Regions from separate parts of the Homo sapiens genome. Here regions 1, 3, 4 and 5 are each linked to region 2. Evidence: promoter capture Hi-C in 16 types of primary human blood cells and fetal thymus (Javierre and others, 2016). All regions are on one chromosome and are shown on one strand. Each heading gives the region's core, a stretch centred on a gene start or on the middle of the fragment in contact. The rest is flanking DNA. Distances are from core to core; before and after follow the strand shown. Region 1 overlaps KANSL1L (KAT8 regulatory NSL complex subunit 1 like). Region 2 holds the start of KANSL1L-AS1 (KANSL1L antisense RNA 1). Region 3 overlaps ACADL (acyl-CoA dehydrogenase long chain). Region 4 holds the start of LOC124907972 (a long non-coding RNA gene). Region 5 overlaps ACADL (acyl-CoA dehydrogenase long chain).

Region 1 (2,700 bases), core at 74-2,573, 130 kb before region 2:
ATTTAATTGCCTTGCTATCTTTGTCAAAATAATCAGGCCAGGCGCAGTGGCTCACCCCTGTAATCCTAGCACTTTGGGAGGCTGAGGTAGGCAGATCACCTGAGGTCAGGAGTTTAAGACCAGCCTGGCCAACATGGTGAAACCCCATCTCTACAAAAATACAAAAATTAGCCGGGCATGATGGCGGGTACCTGTAATCCCAGCTACTTGGGAGGCTGAGGCGGGAGAATCACTTCAACCTGGGAGGCGGAGGTTGCGGTGAGCCGAGATCACGCCATTGCACTCCAGCCTGGGCGACAGAGTGAAACTCCGTCTCAAAAAAAAAAAAAAAAAAAAATTGGCCGTATGTGCGTGGGTCTGTTCCTGAGCTCTGTTTTTTTCCATATATGTGTTCATCCTTTTGCTAATGCCACACTGTCTTGTCTACTAGAAATTGGTAAGTTGTGTGAATCCTTCAACTTTGTTCTTTTCCAAATTGTTTTGGCTATTCTGGTTCCTTTAACTTTCATATAAATCTTTGAATTAGCTTGTAGATATCAGCAAAATGTCCTGCCAAGATTTTGTATCTAAACTTATAAATCAGTTTGAGGAGAATTAGCATCATAACAATATTGAATAGTTTTATCTGTGAACATAGTGTAATGCACTATTTAGGTCTTGATATTTTTATGGGTGTTTTGTATTTTTCAGTATAAAGACCATGTGCATCATCTTGTGTTTAGATTTATACCAAAGCATTTTTGCAGGTGTTGGAATTATTACTGTTTAAAAATTTCTATTTCTAGTTTTTTATTTCTAGCATATAGAAATATAAATGAGTTTTGTAGGTTGACCTTGTGTTTGCTGCCTTATTAAATTCATTAGTCGAGGAGTTCAATCCCTTGGGATTTTCTATGTAGAAAATCACGTCATCTGTGAATAGAGACAGTTTTACTTACTTTCTAATCTGTGCTTTTTATTTCTTTTTTTTTTCTTGCTCTACAGCACTAACTAGGTCCTCCAGTACAACATTGAGTATGAGTGGTGAGAAATGTCTACCTTGCCTCATTCCCAGTCTTAGGGCAGAAACATTCAGTCTTTCACCATTAATTATGATGTGAGCTATAGGCATTTGTGTACATGCTTTTTATCAGATTAAAGACATTCCCTCTCCTTCCTAATTTGCTGAGTTTTTCTCATGAATGGATATTGAATTTTGTCAAATGCTTTTTCTCCATTTATTGACATCATATGGTTTCTCTTTAGTCTATTGATATGGTGAATTTTAGTTATTGTTTTCTTTTTTTTGAGACGGAGTCTCGCTCTGTCACCCAGGCTGGAGTGCAGTGGCGTGATCTCGGCTCACTGCAAGCTCCACCTCCCGGGTTCACACCATTCTCCTGCCTCAGCCTCCCGAATAGCTGGGACTACAGGTGCCCACCGCCACACCCAGCTATTTTTTTTGTATTTTTAGTAGAGACGGGGTTTCACCTTTTTAGTCAGGATGGTCTCGATCCGCCTGCCTCGGCCTCCCAAAGTGCTGGGATTATAGGCGTGAGCCACCGCGCCCGGCCTGTTGTTTTCTTTAATGTTGAACCAGTCTTGTGTTCATGAAATAAGCCATACTTGAACATAGTATCCTTTCTATATTTTGTTGTTTTGTACAATTAAAAAATAGTAATTGAAATAGGTGTTGTTACTACTTGTGAGTACCAAAATCCTGAAATGCCTTTAAATATCATGATCAATTAATTTATGAATTTAGTCAACAAATACATGATAATTACTGTGTGCCAGGCATTATTCTAGTGCTGGAGATTAGATCATTGAGTTCTTGCACTTAAACTACATTCTTTCCTAGAATGTAATATAATGTCAGGTGGCAATAGTGCTATGAAGAGCAATAAAGCAGTGTAAGGGAATGGAGAGTCATGAACCAAGAGGCTGAAGCTATTTAAAATATATTGGTCAGGGAAGGACTCTGATGAGGTGACCTTAGAGCAGAAGTAAATGAAGTGAGGGAGCCAGCCATCTTATTTGTAAAAAATTGTTTCAGGCTGAGAGAATAGCAAACACAAAGTCACTGTGTCAAGAGACTTGCTTGGTGTGTTTCAAATACAGCATAGAGGCCGGTGTTTCTGGAGTGCAGTAATTCATGGAAAGAGTTGTAGAAGGCAAAGTAGTCAGGAACCTGATAATACCAATTTTGTAGGCTATCGTAAGGACAACTTTGGATTTTAAATATACTGGCAACCACTCATTTTCTCACCAGGTTATTTGTTGCGCATCTTCTGTATGTCAAATAGATTTGCATGTTGAGGATACAGTAGTTAACAAAACTGTTCAAAAATCCAAGCCTTTAATAGAGCTTAGAAGTGTTAGTGATAAGTGTAGTTGTTTATATAATATGGAGGTCGTCAGAAGTGGTAGTTTAGAATATTCAGTTGGGAAACATTGTTATGTAAAATGATTATATATCTAGATAATTTAAATAATTGGAAGAAATGTACTTATATTTTGTGCTAAAACTATACTGAACATAATTTAATCTTTTTTATTTATAGGAGACATAGCTATTTTCATTAGTTTCTTTTGGTTGCAAAGTAGAGAGACTTACTTAGGCTAGGTTTTTTTTTTTTTTTATAAGGATACACTTGGGAATAGAATACAGAAGGACTTAATGGAAATCCCTGAATAAGAGCTATGATATGTCCCGGACTT
Region 2 (2,700 bases), core at 201-2,700:
AAATTCTGATTTTAAAATAACCTCTCATGGGAGTTTATAATCCAGAACAGCCACTAATAACACAAAACATCTATGAGTCTACAAACATGAAACAGCATATTCGTAGTTAATTTAGAATTATTTGTGGACTGGTATCTACCCACTTTATGGCAATTAAGTATTTCCCTCCTATGTTCCCTGACTAGTTGTCTTCTACCAATCAGTCCCTGGATGGGATTTAATCTTCAAAGTTGTGTTCTATGCTCAAAATAGGCTAGTGCAAAGTTGCCTTACAGAAACTGTTAACCATTTATGGTACCTACTGTGGAGATGTTGATGCACTGCAGATTCCTCAGGATTTTGAGAAAGTCAACAAGATTCAACTTATATATATATATAAAGCTTTAAAAACATCTAATAAGATGCAACATGAAGTATACATTACCTAAGATATAAAATGTTTCACTTAAATTGACTGACACTTTAGATCTAACTTCAAGTTTGATGTACATACAGGAATAAAATAAAGAAATGTCATACTACAAATAAATAACTAGACAATTCCAAAAGGGTAGGACATCTGGTCCAGCCTGTCAAAAGTCAATGTAATGAAAAATGATTTATTCTAGACTATAAGAAACCTAGGAGACAATGGCCAATTTTTATATATAGATCCTTATCTGAAGAAACTAGCTATAAAGGACTTTTTTTTAACAAATGGAGATATTTAAATATGGACTGGGTATTAGATTTTATATTATGCAGGAAATATTCTCATTTTAAAACACTTGTACTAAAATAAGGGCAGTAAGTAAACGCATACATATATATATTTACTACACACACACACACACACAGTAACTGGGAACCAAAACAGGAAAAAAAAAAAAAAAGAACTTGGAAGATATACAGAAAATACTAACAGAAGTAAACTTCTAATCAATATCCTGAGAGATATGAGAAATTTCATCTATGAAACAAGAACAGGATGCTGTTTTAAAAAAAGAGTACCAGAGAACAAGTACTTTCGGAAACATGTACTTATAATAGCAGAATTTTTTCAAAAAATTAAGAGTGTTCAGAAGACCAAGGACAGATACCTCACATAAATTAGGATAAAAAGTCAGATATGAAAAATGAGATTAGATAAGAAAATTAAGATAGTTCTGGTGGTTCAACTATGAATAGGAGTCACAGGAAACAAGAATAAAGGGATGAGATGAGGGATTATTCAGGGAACAATAAGAAATATATTCGATAAAAACTGCCAAAGCCCCAGAAAATGGAAATAACTTGTGGCATGACTGCAAGTAAGGCTCCTCTTTTTTCATTTCCTTTTTTGTTTTCTAATACACGAATTTAAACACACACACACAAAACAAGGAATCAATCACCTGTCATCTAATTAGGAAAGTAATTCTAATGATATTAGACTTGTTTAATGTGTAACATTCAATGGTTCTTTCCATGGCAGGAGAAAGAACTAAACTTGAAGAATCTGATTTTCAACACACAGAATCAGGATCCCATAGCAATTTTACTGCTGTTTCCAATGTCAACGTTTTATCAAGAATCCAGAATTCATCACGAGTAGGTTTTTCCATATGTTGAACTCTAAAATAGCTTTAAAAATAAAAACACCTGATTTTGAAAATAATTTATATTTTGCTAATCTATAACAGCCTTACTAGCACATATTAACAGACATTTATAACTATCTTGTTAGAAAACAATATATTTGATTCATACAACTTATTTTTAACTATGAAGCTAAAAGTTCATTAATATTTGGTTATAGCTTCTTTTTATGTGTTAAAAATTTAAACATTATCATGATCATCTCTATTCCTTAACATATTAAGCTAAATAAAGTCTTACTAATGAGAATTCAGGACTTTCTTGTTCTTGTCCTGTTTTTTGTTTGTTTGTTTGTTTTTTTGTTATCTGGCCAGGGAATAGAGAGGTCAAAAGGTGGGAGGGTTTAGAAATGAATTCCGAAACTCAGGAACCAGGAATGCATAAATGAAGAGTATACTGAAGGGCTGACCAAAAATGTTTCACTGCCTTTCCTAATAAAAAGTGGTTACTGATCATTTTCATTGACATTTAGGGTGATGTATGTTGGTCTTTTCTGATAAAGAGTTTTGCATTTAAGACCTATTTTTTGTGGTCTTAAAAATAAGCTTGTATGCTTGCACACATAAATACACATTACACATCTACCAAGAGATTGTTCTGATTTACAAAAGATAGAAAAATGTTTTATTTTTTGGTTTTCTTAACATTTTTTAGTCAGACTTTATAACAATGTATTTACAAAAATTATGTAACGTGTACTGCCATATTTACATAACTGATGAAAGGAGGGTATCATTACAAGTAACTAGACAGTACTGTAAATCTACTGTAATCCTGTTTTGCAGAATACTGCACGACGGAGATTGAGAAGTGAGAGCTCTTATGACATAGATAACATTGTGATTCCCATGTCATTAGTAGCCCCAGCTAAATTAGAGAAACTCCAATATAAGGAAATACTTACTCCAAGGTATGTATACTTACATCTTCATATTTTTCTTCCTTCCTTCCCTAATAAACTTAAATTTTCAAAGTGAAGAATTTTAATTAATGAAAGGAGCATCCTTCTCCCAGTTCCTTCATAGCCATGGAGGGGAAACGGTGAAAAAAAAATTACTCGTGCCTTAAGTGTTATATAGTATC
Region 3 (2,847 bases), core at 56-2,555, 160 kb before region 2:
AGGGAAAGGAGGTGTGCAATCTTTTGAATTTTTCAGCTGAATACAGACAAAATGTATTCAAGCAAATGGAAACAGCTTTTTTTTTATCAACTCCCTACTAGGATTTTATTTTTCTTAAATAAAGTAAAGAGACCAATAAACAAAAGCTTGATCCTTGGCTTTATTTGAATCCTTATGTAGAAGGACAAATAGTATTTTCAAAAATTTTTTAATTTTTTTATTTTTTATTTTATTTTGAGACAGTCTCGCTCTGTCACCCAGGTTGGAGTACAGTGGCATGATCTGGGTTCACTGCAACCTCCACCTTCCAGGTTCAAATAATTCTTGTGCCTCAGTCTCCAGAGTAGCTGGAATTAACAGGTGCGTGCCATGACACCTGGCTAATTTTTTTGTATTTTTAGTAGAGGTGTGGTTTTGCCATGTTGGCCAGGCTGGTCTCAAACCCCTGGCCTCAAGTGATCTGCCTGCCTTGGCATCCCAAAGTACTGGGATTACAGGCGTGAGCCACTGCATCCGGCCAAATACTACTTTTTTTTTAAAACCAAAAAAAAAAAAAAGCAATACAGAAAAATTAACTGGCATATGAAAAGGATCTAAGTTGTCACATATCTTAAATATCTGATTATTTGTTTTGTTCTAAAAAAATTAAAAATCTTCTTTCTAAATAGATTTATTTCCTTCAAATTGAAAGAAATCAAATATATCTTTTTATCATATATGAATATTCTTATCAGTTTGAAGCAGTACTAATTTGTAAATAGGCAGTGTCCCCATTCATATTTCTTCCTCAATCTCCAGAATTTCCTTTTCTCCTAACAGTCTTTTGCCTCAGAAGTCTCCCCATAGCTTTTTTTCCTCATCACCCTAGAAAATATATTTTTCTGATTATTTAGCAATGATTTTGGTTTAGAAAATTTTCCCAAGGAAATTTTTTATTTATACAGAAAAGTTCAGTTTGTTCTGAATCTGAGAGTAAGAATGCTATAGGCTTCTAAAAATGTTTTAAGATTATCTTAATATAAAGTATCTAAAGGGAAAAATTATGAAACCTACATTCAAACTGGCAGCCTAATGATTTCAAATTTATCTTTTTGGTAAGTATAATTGGAAACATTTAATATGCTTATAGTCCTTAGAAAAAATATTTTACTAAAATTACATTAAGAACAGAAGCTATGTAGTGGCTCAATGTTTGTGTGGTTTAGTTCACATTTAAGAAAGGCCTATTAGGTGGGGAGAAGGCAATCATCTAAATGGCTTAAGATTAGAGCGTGGCATAAGCCTTGGTCTCTGTTTTCTCGGAGTCAACTCCTTCAAGTTGGTACCAAGCAAACAATGTAGATTGATGGCTTATTTGAAATCTCTGGTTTCAGTTTGAGAGACTTATATTCTCTTTAAGAAACAATAATCACCTTTCTTGGCCAGTTTGTTAGTTCAAAGATTGTATCAATTTTTAAACTAGACTGCTATTTCTCTTCCCATATATCGCCTAATATCAAAAAAGCCACTGAGGCCACGTGCGGTGGCTCACTCCTGTAATCCCAGCACTTTGGGATGCCAAAGCGGGTGGATCACCTGAGGTCAAGAGTTCAAGACCAGCCTGGGCAAAATGGCGAAACACCATTTCTACTAAAAATACAAAAAAATTAGCTAGGCGTGGTTGCAGGTGCCTGTAGTCCCAGCTACTCCAGAGGCATGAGAATCGCTCTAACCCGAGAGGCGGAGGTTGCAGTGAGTCGAGATTGCGCCACTGCACTCCAGCCTGGGCGACAGAGTGAGACTGTCTCAAAAAAAAAAAAACAAACAACAACAACAACAACAAAAAAGCCACATAGACACATTGGCAATATGTGGATGTAATGTATAGATTTTGATTTGATAAAAAAAGAAAAATCTTCTAATTGTGTTTCTTATATCCCCCAGACTAAACTACATTAGTTTATATATATGTTGCTGAGGGTTGGTTTCATAGATAAGAGGTGTTTTCTCTGCTTTTTTATTTTGTTTTTTTGTTTTTGTCTTCTTTAATAACTGGTCTTCAGCATGTGGGTTTATTTAATAAGTCTTACTCATTAGGCTCGAGCCCGTGAGGAGTGAGATTTAAGCCTTGTCATTTTAAGATTTCTCTGCCATGCTGGGAAGAGCTGCCTTAGATGTAGAACTTCACTGCAGTGTGGTTAAACATTTCTGCTGCCGCCTTTCACTGTTAATTTTAGTTGATGACTAAATTTAATTAGTAACATATAAAAGGTCTACTAATCTCTGCTTTACTCCATTGGAACTTCTTTAATGTAAAAAGAAGCCTAGCCCATTTACAAATATATATATATATATCTAAACGCATTGGGACTGCTGAAGTAGGCTTACAGTAGGTAAGTGCTCAAAATGCAGGTGCTAGATTTTGTAGAGAATAGCAAAATCCGTTCAGAAAAAAATGTTTGAAAACATAAATATCTCAAGCTTTTAAAGCTTTCAGCAGAAAGTTCTGAGATTGTAAATTTCCTTTGTAACACCGTAAATCATATCAGTAAATATTTACTGAGTGTCCATTTCTTTGTAAGGAACCCTGATGAATATGGAGAAGAATAAGTCCAAAAGTGGTATGTTCCTAGAGAGCTGGCACATTTAATTTGTCTTAAAAATCAAATTTAAACAAAACAAAACACCAAGATTATACTTGAGAAAAAAAAAAGAAAAGCCTTTGAGTGTGTCTACCAGGAAAGTCCAAAGTTCAATAACTAGCTCTAAGTGCTTTGGCCAATGAAAGTGTTGCAATATACAAAAAAGATATTTGAAAAAGAGGCAGAATACCTACATCCTCATTCCAGTCTGCCAATGATGTGTTGT
Region 4 (2,770 bases), core at 76-2,575, 200 kb before region 2:
AAATACTTGTTGAATGAATTAACGGACAAGCAGATGAGTGAAATAGAAAAGTCTACAAATAGACCTAAATACATAAGGGAATGCAAATGATAGAGTTCATATTTTAAATCAGCAGAAAACATGGATTATTGCAATGAACTGAATGTTTATGTCCCCCTGAAAATTCATATGTTGAGAAACCCTAACTCCCAATGATACAGAAGGGCTGGACTCCTGGGTAAACCCCACCCTTAAGCTTGAAACCTCAACCCTAAGTGAAGACAACTGACCCTGTTTTTCTGCCCAAATGTTGCCTTTTTGGCTTGCCCCTGCCTCTATCTTATGCCCATGAAAGACTTCAGCTGGCATGGCAACACAAGCAGCTGAGCATCAGTGATATAAGTGGCTGAGCGTCAATAATACAAGTGGCTGAGGAGCAAATAGAGAAACAACTGAGTGTCAGAGACTACAGGTAGACATGACTAACTTCAGACCTTGTGGCTTCAGAGAGGGGACCAGCTGAAGATGGCTGGGCTTCAGGGAGTGATCATCTTTCCATCCCCTTTCCAGTTTCCCTTTCCACTGAGAGCCGGCACCGCTCAATAAAGTCTTCCATATTCATCACCTTTCAAACAGTTCATGTGACCTGATTCTTCCTGGATGCTGGGCAAGAACCCAGGTGCCGAGAGGGCAGGGGCTGCCACCCTGACCCTCCACTAAGCTGGTTGGCACTTGGCCATCCTGGATGCAGAGCTGAAAGAGCATTGGTTGAATACACTTGAACACCACTACAGGGTTCGCACGGAGCCTGCTCCCACCAGAGAGGAATGCCCAGCGGATTCCAGCATTCAGTTCACTCAAGTTTCCACACTTGGTTGCTTGCATACTCTCTCCCACAAGGAGTGGCCAGCGATGGGTTGAATGAAACGAGCCACTCCAGTTCCTGCCTGCAAAGGGGGTCAAGAGCACTGTCCCGTCTCATCAAGGGTATTAAAAGGTGGAGTTGGCCAGGCGCAGTGGCTCACACCAGCAATCCCAGCACTTTGGGAGACCTAGGTGGGCGGATCACCCGAGGTCGGGAGTTCAAGACCAGCCTGACCAACATGGAGAAACCCAGTGTCTACTAAAAATACAAAATTAGCTGGGCGTGGTGGCGCATGCCTGTAATCCCAGCTACGCCAGAGGTTGTGGCAGAAGAATCTCTTGAACCCAGGAGGTGGAGGTTGCGCAGAGCAGATGCTTCTTTCTCTTGATTGAAAGAAAGGAAGGATGGGCATGTAGATATATTTGAGAGAGGAGATGGGAAGTTGAAGAAGTTTGCAGCAAATTGAGATAAGCACAGGATGGCTAGTTTTGAAAGAAAATAAATAAAGCTCTTGAATTAAAAATGTGATTCATGGCCCACATAGTTTTAGTTCATAAGCTGACACTCAACAATATTAACATTAAATTATAGATTAATTTGACTAAATATTTTCCCTTTGATAAAGACACCTATCACCCAAGGAATGTACTTTACAGAAGTAATAACTTTCAGTTTCATGTGGAGTTTAAGCAAATACATTCAGGTTTCTATGGAAATAATGTTAAACCTATGTACTCAAATAAAGCTAAAAGTGTTGTGTTTTGTTTTTTTCTGTTTGTTTGTTTCTGAGACAGGGTCTCACTCTGTCACCCAGGCTGGACTGCAATGGCGCAATCTCGGCTCACAGCAGCCTTGACCTCCTGGGCTCAGGTGATCTTTGCACCTCAGCCTCCTGAGTAGCGGGGACTGCAGGCATAGGCCACCAAGCCTGGCTAATTTTTGGTAGATATAGGGTTTTGCCATGTTTCCCAGAGCCTGGCCTAGAACTTCTGGACTCAAGCAATCCACCTGCTTTGGCCTCCCAAAGTATTGGGATTACAGGAGTGAGCCACCGTGTCTGGCCTTAAAAGATTGTTAAATGGAGACCAGGTGGAATTACTATGGCAAAGGGCATGTATTGCCAGCAAAATCTTCCCATGAAGGCTTATCTTACCCTAAATACAAATCAGCTATGAAGAGGAATAATTCTGTATTATGCAAGCAAAATGGTTTAGCAATCATCCTTGTGACATTGTCCAAGATCTATATTACAGAATTACAGATGCTTAGATTTCTTTAGTCTAAGACTGTAATGCACTAAAACTTATGCAACACTTCTATATTTGATTAGATAAGTTTTGCTTTGCACCAGGGGAAATAAATAAATACTTTTTCTAATGAGCTCTGTATACAATGACTATAAAAAAAAAAAAAAGGAGAGCCCTAGAAGATAAATTTTATAACTTTTCTTTTACTTTGAGCAGTTTTTCCTTATAAATGTGTATGATTAATATTTTGGTCATATTATATTATAGGTATGGCTCATAGAGAAGCAATTTAGAAGCAGATTAGGGTTTGAAGTTGGAAGCTTAAACAAATCCATTCTTAATCCTGACAATAAAGTTTACTGTCAAAATTGTTGGTTACAGATACTTAAATTGCTATTTATTTTTTTAAAGAAAATGTTCCAAAACATAAAACAGTAACTAGTTTTGAGACCATTGTCCTCTATAAGGGAAAAGAAAATATTTCAGACACATTTAACAGATGCCAATTTCAGTTTCTCAATTATGTCATCAAGGTATTCTTCAAACCAAATATAAAAATATATATATAATTTCTAATCACTCACTTTTTATACATTTATAAACAGGCAGATACAGATACAGATACAGACACAGGCAGTTATTTGGGTTAAAGAAGCTGGCATTTTCATGGGGTTTAGAA
Region 5 (2,878 bases), core at 135-2,634, 180 kb before region 2:
CCCAGCTAATTTTTGTATTTGTAGTAGAGACAGGGATTCAGCAGGTTGGCCAGGCTGGTCTTGGACTCCTGACCTCAGGTGATCCGCCTGTCTTGGCCTCCCAAAGTGCTGGGATTACAGGCATGAGCCACCACACCCAGCTATAGAAGAATTGTTTTAATAAACTATGTACAGACATTAGTTACCGATACTTTATACATACTTATGATGAAAAATATGATGTTAGAATACAATAGCATTCAGGCTGGGCACAGTCTCTTGTTTATAGTGGAGGTCGGTCATATAGGCACCCTCTGCCTGGCATGTACCAAAAGTTCAGATCCCTAAAAGGAAAGCAGGTATTCAGCATAAGCCAAATTGTTTGCGCAAACAGTTCAGACAGTAAGCCACTCTTATGAGTACTGGGAATGGTGGGAACTCTCCTGAAATCCAGATTCTCAGATGTTAGCCACGGACAATGTTGTAACAGGCCTTTCTAAGGATAGCAGTCTCAGGCCTGCTATATTAATTCTTTTCTGTATACTTGGCATTTTAATAATATAATTTAACAAATGTTTATTGAGTGCCCGTTATGTACAAAGCAGCATGCTAGGCACCAAGCATATAAATATGATCTTGATACACCACATGTTCTCAAAAAACTTGAGTCAGATAAGTGTGGTAGGTGGGAAAGATAATTCCTTTTTATTATAATTGAAATTCAAAGTAAATGGCTCTAAGAGAGTATATTTGTTGCTTTATGGCGTCTGTGACAAATTAGCAGAGACTTGGTGGCTTGAGACACAGAAATTTATTCTCTTACAGTTCTGAAGGCTAAAAGTCCAGAATCAGTATTGTTGGGCCCAAATCAAGGTATCAGGAGGGCCACACTTTCTACAGAGGTTATAGGGGAGGATCCACTCCTTTCCTCTTCTATTTCTTGGTGGCTGTTGGCGTTCCTTGCCTTGTTGCCTCGTCACTGCAGTCTTTGCCTTTGTGGTCACATTGCCTTCTCTTCTGTCTATGAAATCTCTCTTTACCTCTCTTTTATAAGGACATTCATGTTTGCATTTAGGGCTCATCCAGATAATTCATGATAGTCTCTCTATCACAACATCCTTAAATTAATCACATCTGCAAGATTCTTTTTCCATGTAAGGTACAACAGCCTCTAGGGTATAGGACCTGATATCTTTAGGGTCATTATTCAGCCTAATACAGAGAGTGATTTAAAAAAAAAAAAAATGCAACCAGGTGCGGTGGCTCACGCCTGTAATCCCAACACTTTCGGAGGCCAAGGTGTGCAGATCAACTGAGGTCAGGAGTTCAAGACCAGCCTGGCCAACATGGTGAAACCATGTCTCTACTAATAATACAAAAAACTTAGCCAGGCATGGTGGCATACGCCTGTAATCCCAGATACTGGGGAGGCTGAGGCAGGAGAATCACTTGAACTGGGGAGGCAGAGGTTGCAATGAACCAAGATTGTGCCATTGCACTCCAGCCTGGGCAACAAGAGAAAAACTCGGTCTCAAAAAAAAAAAAAAAAATGCTGAGGGGCATAAAATAAAAACACCACTGTATTTATTACTCAGTTTTTGCATTGCTATAAAAAATACCTGAAACTGGGTAATTTATAAAGAAAAGAGGTTTAAGTGGTTCACAGTTCCACCAGCTGTATAGGAAGCATGGCTTGGGAGGCCTCAGGAAACTTACAGTCATGGCAGAAGGCAGAGGGGAAGCAGTCATGTCCTACATGGCCAGAGAAGGAGGAAGAGAGAGAAGGGAGATGTGCTACATACACACTTTTAAACAACCAAATCTCATGATAAGTAACTCACTGTCACAAGAACAGCAAGGGGAAAGTCCTTCCCCATGATCCAATCAGCCCACCAGGCCCCCTCCTCCAACACTGAAGATCATAATTGAACATGAGATTTGGGTAGGGACACAGAGCCAAACCATATCACCCACATAAAGAAGACAAATTGGAAAAATTACACAAGTAATGTGGACTGTTTATACACTCTGCTGTTTATTATAGGATATTAATAAAAATTGGGACCTAAGTGTTTTAACAATAGGGGATTATTTCTTAAAATTATGGTAAATCCATGATGATGCTCTATTCAGCTAATAAGAAGTCATTAGATATTGTTAACAGATCAAAATCATATTATATGGTTCCAGTTTTATAAAAATGCATATATATGTATAGTTATGTCCATAGAAAAATATTGGAAAGATATACCTTTAAAATGTTCATTCCAGGAGATAAAATTATTTTTAAAATTATTTTTCTCCTTTGGACTGCTGTGTTCTTAATATTTTATTTACTAATATTTGTTTCTCTTATATTTAGAAAAATAATCTATTCTACACTTAGAGCAGGTTTGTTAGAAAAAAATGGCATTTGAGACATACTCTTTTTTTTTTAGACAAATTCTCACTGTGTTACCCAGACTAGAGTGCAGTGGCCTGATCATGCCTCACTGCAGCTTCAACCTCTCAGGCCCAAGTGATCCTCTCACTTCTGCCTCCCAAGTAGCTGAGACCACAGGCGTGTGCCACCACACCCAACTAATTTTTTAACTTTTTGTAGAGATAGAGTCTAGCTTTGTTGCCCAGGCTGGTCTCAAACTCCCGGGCTCAAGCAGTCCTCCAGCCTCAGTATCCCAAGGTGCTGGGATTATAGGCATGAGCCACCATGCCCTGCCTAATAGCTAAATTTTTGATCAATAGAGACAGGGGAAGGAACCAAGGTGTTTAAAGGCAGCAAAGTACATGGTGACACGTAATCTCAGGGATACAGTGAGGTTTGAAATGTTATGTGAGTCCCACTGGGGTCTCGAATGTTAGTTGGGCTTTGTTATACTACTGTATAAAACCTGGCTAATTT

What was found. Contacts are between HindIII fragments. The CHiCAGO score rates a contact against its expected background, and 5 or more counts as called.
Region 1: a contact is called between a fragment that was not itself captured here and the fragment with the promoter of KANSL1L-AS1 in region 2, in 16 of 17 cell types (activated CD4 T cells, neutrophils, naive CD4 T cells and 13 more). The highest score is 12.4, in activated CD4 T cells.
Region 3: a contact is called between a fragment that was not itself captured here and the fragment with the promoter of KANSL1L-AS1 in region 2, in 16 of 17 cell types (naive CD4 T cells, neutrophils, naive CD8 T cells and 13 more). The highest score is 18.9, in naive CD4 T cells.
Region 4: a contact is called between a fragment that was not itself captured here and the fragment with the promoter of KANSL1L-AS1 in region 2, in 4 of 17 cell types (neutrophils, monocytes, fetal thymus and 1 more). The highest score is 9.2, in neutrophils.
Region 5: a contact is called between a fragment that was not itself captured here and the fragment with the promoter of KANSL1L-AS1 in region 2, in 8 of 17 cell types (neutrophils, non-activated CD4 T cells, total CD4 T cells and 5 more). The highest score is 10.7, in neutrophils.

Annotation. Positions count from the first base shown.
Region 1 is chr2:210,158,623-210,161,322 of GRCh38, reverse strand. The region is part of intron 1 of KANSL1L (KAT8 regulatory NSL complex subunit 1 like); the gene reads left to right. Among named protein-coding and RNA genes, the nearest start is that of KANSL1L, 11 kb to the left of the region's middle. The HindIII fragment of the contact is 3,036 bases long and covers 1-2,700 here.
Region 2 is chr2:210,028,672-210,031,371 of GRCh38, reverse strand. It overlaps KANSL1L-AS1 (KANSL1L antisense RNA 1), which reads right to left and starts at 1,450. Exons shown (of 5, transcript NR_110291.1): 1 at 1,374-1,450. It overlaps KANSL1L (KAT8 regulatory NSL complex subunit 1 like), which reads left to right. Exons shown (of 15, transcript NM_152519.4): 10 at 1,454-1,569; 11 at 2,403-2,527. The HindIII fragment of the contact is 1,781 bases long and covers 384-2,164 here.
Region 3 is chr2:210,189,877-210,192,723 of GRCh38, reverse strand. The region is part of intron 10 of ACADL (acyl-CoA dehydrogenase long chain); the gene reads left to right. Among named protein-coding and RNA genes, the nearest start is that of KANSL1L, 20 kb to the right of the region's middle. The HindIII fragment of the contact is 2,314 bases long and covers 149-2,462 here.
Region 4 is chr2:210,226,793-210,229,562 of GRCh38, reverse strand. It overlaps LOC124907972 (a long non-coding RNA gene), which reads right to left and starts at 981. Exons shown (of 2, transcript XR_007088064.1): 1 at 474-981. The HindIII fragment of the contact is 2,176 bases long and covers 238-2,413 here.
Region 5 is chr2:210,210,482-210,213,359 of GRCh38, reverse strand. The region is part of intron 4 of ACADL (acyl-CoA dehydrogenase long chain); the gene reads left to right. Among named protein-coding and RNA genes, the nearest start is that of ACADL, 14 kb to the left of the region's middle. The HindIII fragment of the contact is 4,262 bases long and covers 1-2,878 here.